2 separate regions of the Homo sapiens genome follow, and region 1 is linked to region 2. Evidence: promoter capture Hi-C in human tissues and cell types (Jung and others, 2019). All regions are on one chromosome and are shown on one strand. Each heading gives the region's core, a stretch centred on a gene start or on the middle of the fragment in contact. The rest is flanking DNA. Distances are from core to core; before and after follow the strand shown. Region 1 holds the start of FGF22 (fibroblast growth factor 22). Region 2 holds the start of MISP (mitotic spindle positioning).

Region 1 (7,235 bases), core at 1,934-4,433, 110 kb before region 2:
TCTGGCCGGGCGTGGTGGCTCCCGCCTGTCATCCCAGCACTACGGGAGGCCGAGGCGGGCGGATCCCCTGAGGCCGGGAGCTGGAGACCAGCCTGGCTAACATGGTGAAACCCTCATCTCCAATAAAAATAACAAAAATTAGCCGGGCATGGTGGGTGCCTGTAATCCCAGCTATTCAGGAGGCTGAGGCAGAAGAATCACTTGAACCCGGGAGGCGGAGGTTGCAGGGAGCCGAGATCACACCACTGCCCTCCGGCCTGGGCGACAGAGCGAGACTCTGTCTAAAAACAAAACAAAACAAAACCCAACCAAGCAAACCCCACAGAGTCGAGAATCGCTAGATGGAAGGGGATGGCCCAGGTCCCTGGAGCCCCTGTGACAAATTACCACAAACTCGGTGCCTTAAAGCAACGTTCATTTTCTTACATTTCTGGAAATGAAAAGTCCAAAATCAGGACTGCGGGGCTGAAGTCAAGGTGTGTGGAGGCCTCGCTCCCTCCAGAGGCCCTGGGGCTCCTTCCTGCCTCTCCCAGCTTTTGAAGGCTCCAGGTGTGCTTGGCCTGCGGCCACATCACTCCCGTCTCGGTCTCTGTGGTCGCACTGCAGCCTCCTCGTCTGCCTGTGTGAAATCTCCTCCTGTCTCCGTATTGTGACCGCGTTTAGGATGCCCCAGGACAATCTTCTCCATATCGTTCAGATCTTCATGGTGTCAATATATTGAGACTCTTTTTCCAAATAAGGCAAATGTCACATTCTAGGGATCAGGGTGGGGACTTACCTTTGGGCCAACCACAGAGGCTACAAAGAGGAAGACACCACTCAATACAAAGCGTGCGCCAGCCCAGCCCTGATCGGTGTTTGTTGTTGTTGTTTTTGTTTGAGACAGAGTCTCGCTCTGTCGCCCAGGCTGGAGGGCAGTGGCATGATCTCAGCTCATTGCAACCTCCGCCTCCTGGGTTGTATAGATTCTCCTGCCTCAGCCTCCTGAGTAGCTGGGATTACAGGCGTGAAAAGGAGCAAGGCTCTGCCCCAGCCACAGCGCGGATGCACCTTGAGGATGTCATGCTCAGTGAAAGACGCCAGACACAGAAGGACACACAGTGTGTGATCCCCTTTATATGAAATGTCCACAACAGGCCCATCCACAGAGGCAGGAAGGGGATGTGTGGGTGCCGGGGGCTGGCAGAGGGGATGAGTGACAGCTGATGGGGCTTCTTCTTGCGGTGATGGAATCTTCTGGAACTAGACAGTCGTGGTGGTTGCACAACTCTACGAGGTACTAAAATCACTGAACTGGCTGGGTGCAGTGGCTCATGCCTGTAATCCCAGCACTTTGGGAGGCAGAAGCAGGTAGATCACGAGGTCAGGAGTTTGAGACCAGCCTGGCCAACATGGTAAAACTCTGTCTCTACTAAAAATACAAAAATTAGCTGGGTGTGGTGGCAGGTGCCTGTAATCCCAGCTACTCAGGAGGCTGAGGCAGGAGAATCGCTTGAACCAGGGAGGCAGAGTTTGCAGTGAGCCGAGATCGCACCACTGCACTCCAGTCTGGGTGACAGAGCCAGACTCCGTCTCAAAGAAATAATAATAAAATAAAATCACTGAACTGTACAGTGTAAGTGGGTGAATTGTGTGGTATATGAGTGATGTTTCCGAGGTGTCATTAAAGAAACTCAGACGCCTGGGGTGGGGCCAGTCTCACCGCTGTGGGTCCCATCCCCATCATTTCTCACAAGGCCCTCAGATCACCCTTCCGCGGTGGGGGGCGGACACTCTAAGAAGGGAAGACCTGGGCTCCTGCTGGCGAGAAGGCGGTGGACATTTCTTCAGTGTCTGGTGCCGCGCCCTCTGCCCAGCGTGCTCCGTGGAGGGTCTCATTGTCTTCCTCCAGACGTCTCTTTACTGGCCCATTTTACAGAGGCGGAACCGAAGCTTGGGGTGTTGGCCACAGGGCTCTAGTGTGGGAAGCCAGGCCAGGCTGGACCTCAGCCATGGGGACCCCTGTCCCTGAGACTGTGGCACCTGCCACACCCTCTGTGTGACCCGCCTAAGCCAGGAAGAGAGGGTCAGGAGATGCCTGAGCCACCAAGAAGGCATCCCAGCGTCCAGCCAGACCGGTTATCCCTCCAGAGGGCTCCCCGGCAGGACAGGCTGGTCGCCATGTCTTCAGCCTGGTGCTATTTAAAGGTGGGTGCCACCTGGGGCTGTGGCCGCAGGGCCAGGACTGGGCTGCTGGGAGCTGTGTCCCCACAGCGGAGGTCGCCGCCCCTCTCAGGCCTCGGTTTCCCCAGTTGTCAATGCCTCCACTTGGCTGTGAGTCTGTGAGGGTCACTGTGCTCACCTTTTGGGGCCCAGCGCATGGGGCAGGCAGAGGAAGGGTGGGGGCCAGCCGCCTTGCTGGGTGGTTCCCCGTGGGGCCTGGGGTATGGCTCTAAGGGAGGAGCAAGTGTGGGTGCGAATGGGGCCGCCCCATTCCTGCCGCCTCCGACGTGCCCCGCCAGCCGGCCACCGACAGGTCTACGTGGCTATCCTCCCTCCTGCCCACCTACCTGCCCAAACACACGTCCCCAGTCGTCACCTGCCCACCCACCCGCGCATTCCCACACCCTTGTGGGCCTGGCTTTCGGGAAACTACAATTTGCGGGGAGAGAAGTCCCACGAGGGCATGCCCCGGAGCCTGGCTGGTCCCACGGCTGACGCACGCGGCAGGACCTCCCGTGTCCATCTCTGTCCCCAAGCATCTCCGCCTCTGCCCCTCTCTGTCTCTGTGTCTCTCTCGTCTCTCCCGGTCATCTTCCTTGTGTCTCTTGACTGCCGCCGTCTTTCTGTCTCTGTCTCCCTCCGGGTCTCTGTCTCCCTCCAGGTCTCTGCGGCCCGCGTCTCACACTCCCGCCCCCGCAACCCGAGGTCCTAGCCCGCCCGGGGACTCGGCTGACTCACGGACACGCCCCGCGAGACAAACAACAAACGCGCGGAGGCCGAGCGCGGAGTCCCGCACGGCCGCGCCCCTGTGCACCTGGCCCCCGCCCCCGAGACGTCCCATTGGCCGGCGCCCTAGCCTGGTCCCGCCCAAGTGGACCCCGCCCCCGCCCCGAGGCACCCCATTGGCCGGCGTCCCCGCCCCAGCGAACCCGGCCCCGCCCCCGAGGCGCCCCATTGGCCCCGCCGCGCGAAGGCAGAGCCGCGGACGCCCGGGAGCGACGAGCGCGCAGCGAACCGGGTGCCGGGTCATGCGCCGCCGCCTGTGGCTGGGCCTGGCCTGGCTGCTGCTGGCGCGGGCGCCGGACGCCGCGGGAACCCCGAGCGCGTCGCGGGGACCGCGCAGCTACCCGCACCTGGAGGGCGACGTGCGCTGGCGGCGCCTCTTCTCCTCCACTCACTTCTTCCTGCGCGTGGATCCCGGCGGCCGCGTGCAGGGCACCCGCTGGCGCCACGGCCAGGACAGTGAGTGCGGGGCGGCGGGGGCCTGGGGTGGGGAGGCGGCGGGTGACGGCAACGCGGCCGCCGTCTTCACGGTGACCTGCGCCCGCGGGGGAGTCCCGGAGGCTCCTCTGTGCAGCCTCGGCCTCAGTTTCCGTGGTCTGTGAGATGGGTGCAGCCTGCCTGGTGGGAGGGTTGCACTGTTAAAGCGAAGGCTGCAGCGGCGGACCCGGCTCAGGGGCAGAGAAGCGTCCGTGTGGTACAACCCTGTGGGTGGGGCCACCCATCTGCAGGTGGGAAACTGAGGCTCCAGAGGGGCTGGGGCAGGCCCAGCTGCATGGCGGAAGCGGCGGGGGGCTGACCTCCGGACTCCTGACATCACAGAATCCAGTCAGGGCTGCCTGAGTCGGGGCCCCCTCTGCTTCTTCCCAGACACCCCATCTGGCAGGTGAGGACAAGGAGGCACACAGAAGGGATGGGACCTGCCCAGGGTCACACTGACAGGGGTGGCGGAGCTGGGTCCCCACAGGGCCCAGGACGTCACGGAGCGGGCGTCTCTGTCCCCAGGGTCTGCCGAGCACACTGAGGTAGGCCCTCAGTGTTTGTGGAATGTCAGGAGCAAGAGGAGAGGCTGGGCACAGCAGGGGATGTGGGTACCTGGAGGCCAGGGGAGTCGGTGTCCCCGCCGGGCGGGGGGCACTGGGAAGGGGGCCCGGGCCCGCTGGCTGCCGCCTGAATCACCACCATCAGGGCAGGTAATCACCCCCTGTCCTTCCCACCGCTTTCATCTGGGCGCCAAGGCCCTCATTAGGCCGCACGTGACGAGGGCGGACAGGGGACTGGCTGGGCCGGTCCATCCATGGCGGGCATGGCCAGGCGGGGTGGCCTCGGGCCGGGGCAGAGGCCTGGCTCCGCTGCCTGACCTGGAACAGTCTCTGCCTCTCTCCAAGCCTCGGTTTCCCCAGCTGGACGGTGATGGGGGTGAGGGCTAGCTGAGGGCTCTCCTGCCCTTCGTGCATTCGCTGGTCACTAATCGGGCACCTTGTGGGTGCTGTGCTCCGCATGGGGGACCCAGTGGTGACAGAGACGCCCACCCTCCTGGGGCTCCCAGAGCAGAGGCGCGCAGCAGTTAGACACGTGAACAAGGGCGCAGGTGGGTGCACAGAACAGTGAACGGTTGGCCGGGTGCAGTGGCTCACGTCGGTAATCCCAGCACTTTGGGAGGCCGAGGCGGGCAGATCACGAGGTCAGGAGATCGAGACCATCCCGGCTAACACGGTGAAACCCCGTCTCTACCAAAAATACAAAAATTAGCCGGGTGTGGTGGCGGGCGCCTGTAGTCCCAGCTACTCGGGAGGCTGAGGCAGGAGAATGACGTGAAGCCGGGAGGTGGAGCTTGCAGTGAGCTGAGATCGCGCCACTGCCCTCCACCCTGGGCGACAGAGCGAGACTCCGTCTCAAAAAAAAAAAAAAAAAAAGAACAGTGAATGACGTGAACAAGGGTGCAGGTGGGTGCGCAGAACAGTGAACGGCGGTGTTGGGAGGCACCTTGCCAGGGGAGGGGAGGTGCAGGGCGAGGAAGGGGCCAGGGGAGATCGTGACACAGACGCCCCAGAACAACCACCTCAAAGACGTTCCTGTGTGTCCTGGAAGGTCGGGCTGGGAGGCTGCCCCGAGGAGCTTTCACTTTGACAGGGAGCTGGCCGGGCACGCAGGGAACTGTACACCCAGCTGACAAAGCGGCAGACACCCAGGCCGGGGTGAGCGAGTGTGGGTGAGGAGTGGCGGCTGGCCCCAGGGTCCTTGCTGGACAAGACACTTCAGCTCAGGGTGGGGCAGGGCTCACCCAGGGCTACCCACAGACGATGGCGTCCAAATCTGGCTCTGCCACTCCCAGGCCTCAACTGGCCCCTCTGCAACGTGGGCTGCTGAGCGGGCTTGGTAGGACAGCTGGCATACAGTCGGCGCTCAAGCATGTCTGTGGTGTCCCATAAACCACCGGTGTCCCACTCTAGGCCACTGCCAGCCCGGCCTCCAGTCCAGAGTCCCAGTCCGGAGTCCCAGTGACTGTGCGTGGGCCGGGCAGCTGAGCTGTGAGGGCCGGGCTGGGGGCTCCATATGGGGTGGTGTGAGCTGTGAGGGCCGGGCTGGGGGCTCCATATGGGGTGGTGTGAGCTGTGAGGGCCGGGCTGGGGGCTCCATATGGGGTGGTGTGAGCTGTGAGGGCCGGGCTGGGGGCTCCATATGGGGTGGTGTGAGCTGTGAGGGCCGGGCTGGGGGGTCCCTGGGGTGGTGTGAGCTGTGAGGGCCGGGCTGGGGGGTCTCTGGGGTGGTGTGAGCTGTGAGGGCCGGGCTGGGGGCTCCATATGGGGTGGTGTGAGCTGTGAGGGCCGGGCTGGGGGCTCCATATGGGGTGGTGTGAGCTGTGAGGGCCGGGCTGGGGGGTCCCTGGGGTGGTGTGAGCTGTGAGGGCCGGGCTGGGGGCTCCCTGGGGTGGTGTGAGCTCTGAGGGCCGGGCTGGGGGGTCTCTGGGGTGGTGTGAGCTGTGAGGGCCGGGCTGGGGGCTCCATATGGGGTGGTGTGAGCTCTGAGGGCCGGGCTGGGGGCTCCCTGGGGTGCTGCTGGTCGCTGGCTCATTGACAGTTATCAGTGGTCTGGGTGGGCCCTGCCCCTTCTGACTCCCACATCCCAGGAACCCTTTCCCAACCTTCCTCGTGGTGTTGCTGCCCCCCTGACGTCCGTCCCTCTGGGTGTGTGGGAGCCCCCCCGCCATACACACACACAGATGCTGCTCTTGGGCTGAGCTGCAGGGACAGCGCTGACCTGGCCCTCCCACGGGGTCCTCATCGATCTCTGCACTCCCCCAGCTCGTGGGGGCCGTCCTGCTTCCCGTTCCCTCTGCCTGCTCCTTGCTCCTCCCTCACATGCTGGGGGGGGCTCCTGGTGTCAGTCACGGCTCTGGGGGATCCTGAGTGTCCGTCGTGGTCGGGAGGGGACTCGTGGTCCCGGGGGTCTCCTGGTATCTGTCGTGGTCCTGAGGGCCCTGCACGAAGCACAGCGGACAGCAGCGGTGCTGGGGGTGAGCCAGCAAGGCCCTCCCCGACCCCCGCCTCCCCCAGGCATCCTGGAGATCCGCTCTGTACACGTGGGCGTCGTGGTCATCAAAGCAGTGTCCTCAGGCTTCTACGTGGCCATGAACCGCCGGGGCCGCCTCTACGGGTCGGTGAGTGCCGGGCAGGGCTGGGCGGCGCGGGCAGGGTGGGGAGGGTGGGCCGGCCTCACCCCCGCCCGCAGCGACTCTACACCGTGGACTGCAGGTTCCGGGAGCGCATCGAAGAGAACGGCCACAACACCTACGCCTCACAGCGCTGGCGCCGCCGCGGCCAGCCCATGTTCCTGGCGCTGGACAGGAGGGGGGGGCCCCGGCCAGGCGGCCGGACGCGGCGGTACCACCTGTCCGCCCACTTCCTGCCCGTCCTGGTCTCCTGAGGCCCTGAGAGGCCGGCGGCTCCCCAAGGTGCCTGGGCTGGTGGCGAGGGGCCCGGCCACGCTTGTTCTTCCCCCTGCGGGCTCTGTAAGCGCTGAGTGCCCACCGTGTGCGGGCGCTGTGGACACAGCCCAGGAGCCCTCCAGGGGGGTCCCAGCCTGAGGGGGTGGTGGCCACCAAGCAGGTTCAATCCTGAGTTGGGGACCTCGAGGACCCAACAGGGCGCCTCTCGGGCTGAAGGACGCAGACGTCGAAAGGTCGAGGGGGACGTCCCAGGCAGGGCCCGGCAGAGGCAGGGGCTCGGGGTGGGGAGCACGTTGGGAGTGGG
Region 2 (6,789 bases), core at 2,916-5,415:
GAGTTTTCTTTCGCTGGAAAGAGGGACAGGGGCCCCCACCCGTCACCACGCCCCAACACTCCCCCCGAACCAGAGCCGTGCACTTGTGCCTGGTAGGAGAGAGACAGGACAGACCCGCTTTTCCCGAGACAAGGACCCCCCATGTCACGGCAGCTTCACAGACGCGGCTCGCGCCCACCGGGGTCCTGGCGGGTGGGACCCGCAGCCTCCACGCGGCCCAGGCCAGCCTGCCACCCTCTGGGCCTCCTACCTGTGCCTTTCTCTGAGGGGACACCCCGCCAGAGAGGGCCCCGGGAGCCGGGGGTGGGTACTGAGGCCTGCTCAGGCCCTGGAAGTGAGGCTCTATGGGGTTCCCTGGCCAAGGCGCTGGCCCCCCAATCTCAGGCAGTTGGGGTGAGGCCGTGCCTCTTTGGGGGCTAAAGGTCTTGGGTGGAGGACAGGCCCCTCTGCTGTGCCCCTATGCCCTGTGTGGGCCCAACCAGTGGACAATGGAGTCTGGGGGAGGGGGAACCCCGGGGACATGCCCCCACCCGGGAGGGGCCGGTAACCCCTGGGCTATCTTCTAGACGGGGCGAACCAGGGGTCATTGACCTGCCCCCTGCACAGGGCAGGGACCGAGTGAGCCACTCCTTGTCCCGAGCTCCCGCCCCCACTGGGCCCTCCTTCCTCCTGGTGCTAATTTGGGGACCCCAGGGGCCGCCCCCGGCCTCTTCTCCATCCTGCTTGGACCAGGGTCCTGGGTCTTCCCAACCATACCCCGAGATCAGGCCCCACCTGCCAGCTCTACTGGGCTTGGAGCACGTCCGGGCAGTGGAGGGAGGGACACAGCCTGGGACAGGAAGCCTCTTGGGTTGGAGCAGGAGACCCTCATTTGCCACCCAGACCAATGTGAGCCTGCCCCCAGCCCCCTCTCATTGGAAGTGGCAAGGGGCTTCCCTCCTGGGGGCAGCTACACTCGTCCCCAGAGGCACATTCGTGCACATTCTCACAGACACCGTCTCACACGTTGGCTTTGGACAACCAGGCCCCAACTTGGTCCCTGCCCTAGGGACCTCCAGCCTGGTGCCCAGTGCTCAGGCCACCTCCTGGTCCAGTCACCACCTGCAGCCTCGGCAGGGCAGGTACAGGGGCCACCTCGGATGGGAGCCTGGGTCCCTGCCTCCGCTCTGCCCCTGGGTGGCTGGGAGGAGAGGCCCTCTCGGGGGTGACCTGGGCGTCAGCCGTGGAACCCCCTCCTCCTCCCTGGAGTCTGCCTGAGTCCCTCGAGCCGCGAGCCTTCGCTGAAGTGCCCTTGCTATAACCCCCTCTGCTTCTGGTGTGTGACGAGGCCCCCGATGTTCTTGATTTTCCCAGAGAAGCAAATAAACAGCGTGAACAGCCCCAGTTCCTGGAGTTCTTGCCTTTCAACCTGGCGAGGAAGGCGTGGCCAGGCCAGGGGGTGGGGCCTGCCGGCCTTTGAGCCATTAAAGGGAGGCTGAGCAGGGTTGCGGTGTGCTGGCTTCACCTGCCTGCACCCGCTCACCCTGAGCGCCTTGGGGTGGTGGGAGGCGCTGGAATCCCCACTGTGCAGGTAAGGCCTGGCTGTAAGGGGCTGCTGTGGGGGGGCAGGACTGGCTTCCCGGGGGGCCCTCGGGTTCTGCGGCCGCCCCGTCCTGTCCTTTGTTCCTCCCTTTGCTGGGCTCACAGCCCCTGGGTGATGACAGAGGGTCCCCTGGACACCCACAAGCTCTGTAGAGAAGCCGGCCCCTGGGAAATACACAGGAGGCCTGGGGAGGAGGTGTCTGTAGAGACCAGTGTCATGCTCACGGGAAGGTGCTGCCCCGCCAGCCCCACTCTCTCACGCTGTAGTCTTGGAGAAGTCGCTGCCTCCTCTGGGCCTCAGTTTTCCCATCTGTAAAATAAGCCTTCGTGGCCGGGCACGGTGTTTCACACCTGCAATCCTAGTACTTTGGGAGGCCGAGGTGGGCGGATCACAAGGTCAAGAGATCGATACCATCCTGGCCAACATACTGAAACCCTGTCTCTACTAAAAATACAAAAACTTAGCCGGGCGTGGTGGCTCACGCCTGTAATCCTAGCTATTCAGGAGGCTGAGGCAGGAGAATCGCTTGAACCTGGGAGGCGGAGGCTGCAGTGAGCTGAGATCGTGCCACTGCACTCCAACCTGGGCGACAGAGCGAGACTCTGTCTCAAATAAAATAAAATAGGCCTTCGGAGCCCTGAGTGGGAGGCCAGCCTCAGCCTGGGCGTGGGACGTCTCCACAGTGCCCCCAGCTCATGGGCGATCCAGCCTCCACCCTGCTGGGGCCTCAGTTTTCCCCGATGAGGTGGTGAGTGTGGTGGAGAGCACTGCTGAGGGAACTCAGGTTCCAATTCCAGCCTAAACCCCCGCCATTCCTGAGGCGCGATTTTAAGCTTTCCGTACCTCCGTTTCCCTATCTACAAGCCAGGGAGAAAAGGACGTGAAGGGGGTGGCGGGAGGCGGCGGTGGGAGGCGCCGTGAGGCCGCGCACCCTGAGCTTTCACACACCCAGCAGCGTTAGGTGCCACGCTGTCCTTTGGGGGCCCTTTATCCAGATTTGTCCTTAAACACCCCCATCTTGGCCAGGCGCCGTGGCTCGCGCCTGTAATCCCAGCACTTTGGGAGGCTGAGGCGGGGGCATCACCTGAGGTCAGGAGTTCGAGACCAGCCTGGCTAACGTGGCAAAACCCTGTCTCTACTAAAAATACAAAAATAGCTGGGCGTGGTGGCTCATGCCAGTAATCCCAGCTACTAGGGAAGCTGAGGCAGGAGAATTGCTTGAACAGGGGAGGTTGCCGTGAGCCGAGATCGTGCCACTGCACTCCAGCCTGGGTGACAAGAGCGAGACTCCGTCTCAAAAAAAAAACACAAAAAAAGCACCCCCCTCCTGAGCAGCCCTGCTGGATTCGTAGCTGGGGGCCTTTTTACTCGAAGAAGAGACTGAGGTTCAGAGGGGCTCCACAAGCAGCCCCTCTGGCGTAGGTCAGGACAGAGCCCCAGCCTGGGGAACTGAAGTCCCTGCCCCCTCAGCTGTGTTCCCTGCCCTCATAGACGGCGCTAGGCCCAGTGGCCCGACTTCCCCACAGATGCTGGGCTCCCCACAGTCCCAGCAAGGCCTCTGCACCTTGACTAAGAATCCAGGAGGACCATGGGCGCCTGAGGGCCTCTGCGTCCCCATCTCTCGGGGTGGCCTGGGTCTTTTGACGGCCTCGTGCGGTTCTTTTTTTTTTTTTTTTTTTTTTTTTTTTGAGTTGGAGTTTTGCTCTTGTCGCCCAGGCTGGAGTGCAGTGGTGTGATCTCGGCTCACTGCAACCTCCAACTCCTGGGTTCAAGTGATTCTTCTGCCTCAGCCTCCCAAGTAGCTGGGATTATAATAGCGTGCCACCATACCCCGCTAAATTTTGTATTTTTAGTAGAGACGGGGTTTCGCCATGTTGGCCAGGCTGGTCTCGAACTCCTGGCCTCAAGTGATCCGCCCGCCTCGGCCTCCCAAAGTGCTGGGATTACAGGTGTGAGCCACCAAGTCCGGCCCCCTCGTATGGGTTTTTATGTGGATGGGGCCTAGGGAATTCCTCCCAGCAGCCCTGAGGGAGCCCGGGCGTGATGTTCCCCCACGTCCCGGAGGAGAAAACAGGGCTAAGAGAGGTCAGGTGGGATCAGAACCCAGGCCACACCAAACCCCCCCGAGTCTGCCAAACCTGGTTTATGCAAGAAGGGGGCCATCTAGGGGAGTTGCCCCAAGGGGTGGGCTGGGCCAGAAGGCACGGACGGGATTGGGACTCAGCCCCTCCGGCCCCCCAGGAGACACAGGCCACTGTGCACGCTGAGCTGCTGTGTGGCCCTGGACACCTGCTGACCCTCTCTGAGCGGTGCTGAGAGGCGGTGGGAGGGCCAGGCAGCCAAGGGAGGTTTCGGCTGAGTTCTGGCTCCTCGGGGCCACCTGGAGGCCCTGGGGGTGGAGGGGCAGCCGGCAGCGGGCACGGTGCCCGCCCTTGCCCAGCCTGGTATCCTCTTTCTCCCTCCTCCTCCTCTGGACTTTGTTTCCTGATCCCAGGTGGGGCTGGGGGGAGGGGGCACACCTGCCTCCCCTGGGTGGGGCCTCTGTTCCCTGGCAACCTGGCGGGCAGGGCGGAGCTGGGAGGCCTCTGTGCCCATCGAGGAGTCAGAGTGGAGGCTGCAGACTGTGGAGCCGGGAGCCGGCAGGTGAGGCTGGGGGCGCCCCGGGCCGGGCCGGGCGGGGATCCTGTGTGGGGCGGTTGGATCCACATTTGGCGTGGGAGCGTCATGTGTCTGTGGGCGGGGTCTGCTTGCCTGGCGGCACTTGGGATCCAGGGAGGCCCCCTGCCCCACCCCGTCACCCTCGGAGCCTCCCTGAGGCACCTTTCCCTCTGCCCCCGCTAGGTACTCTGGGGCCTCAAGGGCACCCACTGGGAGAGCAGAGAGGCCCTTGTCCCTGAACTCTGCTGGGGCTTTTGAACCCCAAATCCCAGAGCCCTCCAAGGGAGGGGCCGGGTTGGCACCCCCATGGTCAGAGGCCAGAGGGGCCCCTCCATGGTTCTGGGAATTCCAGAGGCTTCTGGAGAGATGCTTATCCGTCCCACCAGGCCCCTGACTGGGAGGCTCTGGGCAGTAAACACCCCCGTGGGGCTGGGGGCTGGTTTGGGGACACGGAGGAGGGGTGGCTGAGTACAGGCGGAAGGAGTCTCAGGCCGGGGCTGGGGACTTGGCCTGGGTCCTCGGGTGGGGGTGAGGTGGTAGCCTGGGATCCCGGGCAGCCAGCAGGGACTCGGCCCAGCGTCTGCCGGTGGAGCTCCGCCCAGGAGCCCAAGGAGCTGAGATGACTCAAGGGTGACTGCAACCCTGAGGGATGGGAAAAAGGAACGGGGCCCTCCCTTCTGCATGGCCTCCTTGTCTGAGTCTCGGCCCCACAAGGGAACCTTTGCCCCTCACATAGAGCCAACTGGCTGATGAGGAAGGAGGTGTGGCACCAGGGTCCATAAACCCAGTTTCATTCTGGTATCAACAGAGTTCAGGGTGAGGCTGGGAGGAGCAACCCAGGGGGCTTCCTGTAGGAGGGGGTGATTTGGAGCAAAGTCTGAAAACTGGCTTCAGACACTTGCTCTGTCATCGCTGTGTGACCTCAGATGAGCAGGTTCTCCTCTCTGGGTCCCAGCTCCCTCTCTCGAAAACCGGAGTCGAAAACGGTTCCAAGGTGTTGCAGGAAGAGTCTCAGGACGCCGAGGTCCTTAGCCACCGCCGGGCCTTGCAGGGGCCATCTTCCGTCCTGGGGCTCTTCCCCCGAGGGCAGCGCCGCTGCCCAAGAATGCCGGCCATGAGAGCCGCCGTGGATCCAGGGGTTTTTTTGGCCGACACAGTGAAACCCCATCTCTACTAAAAATACAAAACTTAGCCGGGCGTGGTGGCGGGCGCCTGTAGTCCCAGCTACTTGGGAGGCTGAGGCAGGAGAATGGTGTGAATCCGGGAGGCAGAGGTTGCAGTGAATGGAGATCGCGCCACTGCACTCCAGCCTGGGCGACAGAGGGAGACTCTATCTCAAAAAAAAAAGCGGGGGGCGGGGGTGGGCACTGAGGCACAGGCAGCAGGGGAGGGGGCCCAGTGGCCTTGAACCCAAGAGCTGGACCCCAGGCCCCACCCGCTGGCTTCAGTGAATCACTGGGGAGGAATGAGCAGAGGAGGATGCGTGCCTTCATCCCCACCCAACCCCGACCCCACTGGGAGACCCGGCACCTGCTCGAGGCTGGGCGGACAGCTCCCTTTCTCCCGGAGTTGACGTCTGATGTGGGTTATAAATCCCGCTGTGTAAACGTCTGTCCACTCACTGGGCAAACATTCCTACACCCGCCCTCCCCGGGGAGCTCCAGGGTGCAGGGCGTGGACCTGCCCAGCCCTTCAGGGCCAGAAGGCACGGTGGAGCCGGTCTGCATTCCGCAATGAGCCCGACCCCCACGTCTGAGCAGCTGGGATGAGTGGTGTTTGCCCAGCCAGTATTTATTAGGCGCCTGCTGTATACCAGACTCTGGGCTGCAGGAAGGGTGCTGACCTGTGGCCACAGCAGGCGAGAGCGAGGCCTGGGCTGACGGTTTCGGGTGGGAGAAGGCAAGGCCTTCCGTGAGCTGGGCAGGCGGCGTCCACGGAGGAGGAGGCCTCGGGTCAGGGGAGCCATCTGTGCGTCACGCTTTGGGAGGAAGCTCAGCTGTTTGTGTGGGATTTATTCACCAATGCCGCCTGGTTTTCAATGTTTCCCCTATTTTAGTTTCTGACATTTGATACGCGCGGAAGATTGCATGACACATTGCGTGTAGTTTCAACACGGCTCCCCACGGTCTCTCCACTTTATGCTGTTTGATGCCACTTTCCAGTTCAGAGAGGGGCTAAGTTTTTCTTTTTTTTTCTTTTTTTCTTTTTTTTTTTTTTTGAGGCGGAGTCTAGCTCTGTCACCAGGCTGGAGTGCAATGGTGCGATCTCAGCTCCCTGCAAGCTCCACCTCCCGGGTTCACAGCATTCTCCTGCCTCAGCCTCCTGAGTAGCTGGGACTACAGGCGCCCGCCAGCACACCCGGTTAATTTTTTTTGTATTTTTAGTAGAGATGGGGTTTCACCATTTTAGCCAGGATGGTCTCGATCTCCTGACCTCGTGATCCGCCAAAGTGCTGGGATTACAGGTGTGAGCCACTGTGCCTGGCCGACCCTGTCTGTTTAAAAACAAAAAAAAATGCTGCTGGTTGGTGTAAAGGCAGCAGATCTAAA

The links. Contacts are between HindIII fragments. The study calls those that stand out against the background at their distance.
Region 1: a contact is called between the fragment with the promoter of FGF22 here and the fragment with the promoter of MISP in region 2, in 1 of the 25 tissues and cell types used here (lymphoblastoid cells).

The regions. Positions count from the first base shown.
Region 1 is chr19:636,696-643,930 of GRCh38, forward strand. FGF22 (fibroblast growth factor 22) reads left to right here and starts at 3,184. Exons shown (of 3, transcript NM_020637.2): 1 at 3,184-3,444; 2 at 6,540-6,643; 3 at 6,715-7,235. The coding sequence starts at 3,231. The coding sequence ends at 6,909. It overlaps LOC105372234 (a long non-coding RNA gene), which reads left to right. Exons shown (of 2, transcript XR_936226.2): 2 at 1-1,611. RefSeq lists enhancers at 366-425, 1,800-2,525 and a silencer at 2,867-3,356. The HindIII fragment of the contact is 14,968 bases long and covers 1-7,235 here.
Region 2 is chr19:746,947-753,735 of GRCh38, forward strand. It overlaps MISP (mitotic spindle positioning), which reads left to right and starts at 4,166. Exons shown (of 5, transcript NM_173481.4): 1 at 4,166-4,225. PALM (paralemmin) reads left to right here. Exons shown (of 9, transcript NM_002579.3): 9 at 1-1,383. The HindIII fragment of the contact is 28,409 bases long and covers 1-6,789 here.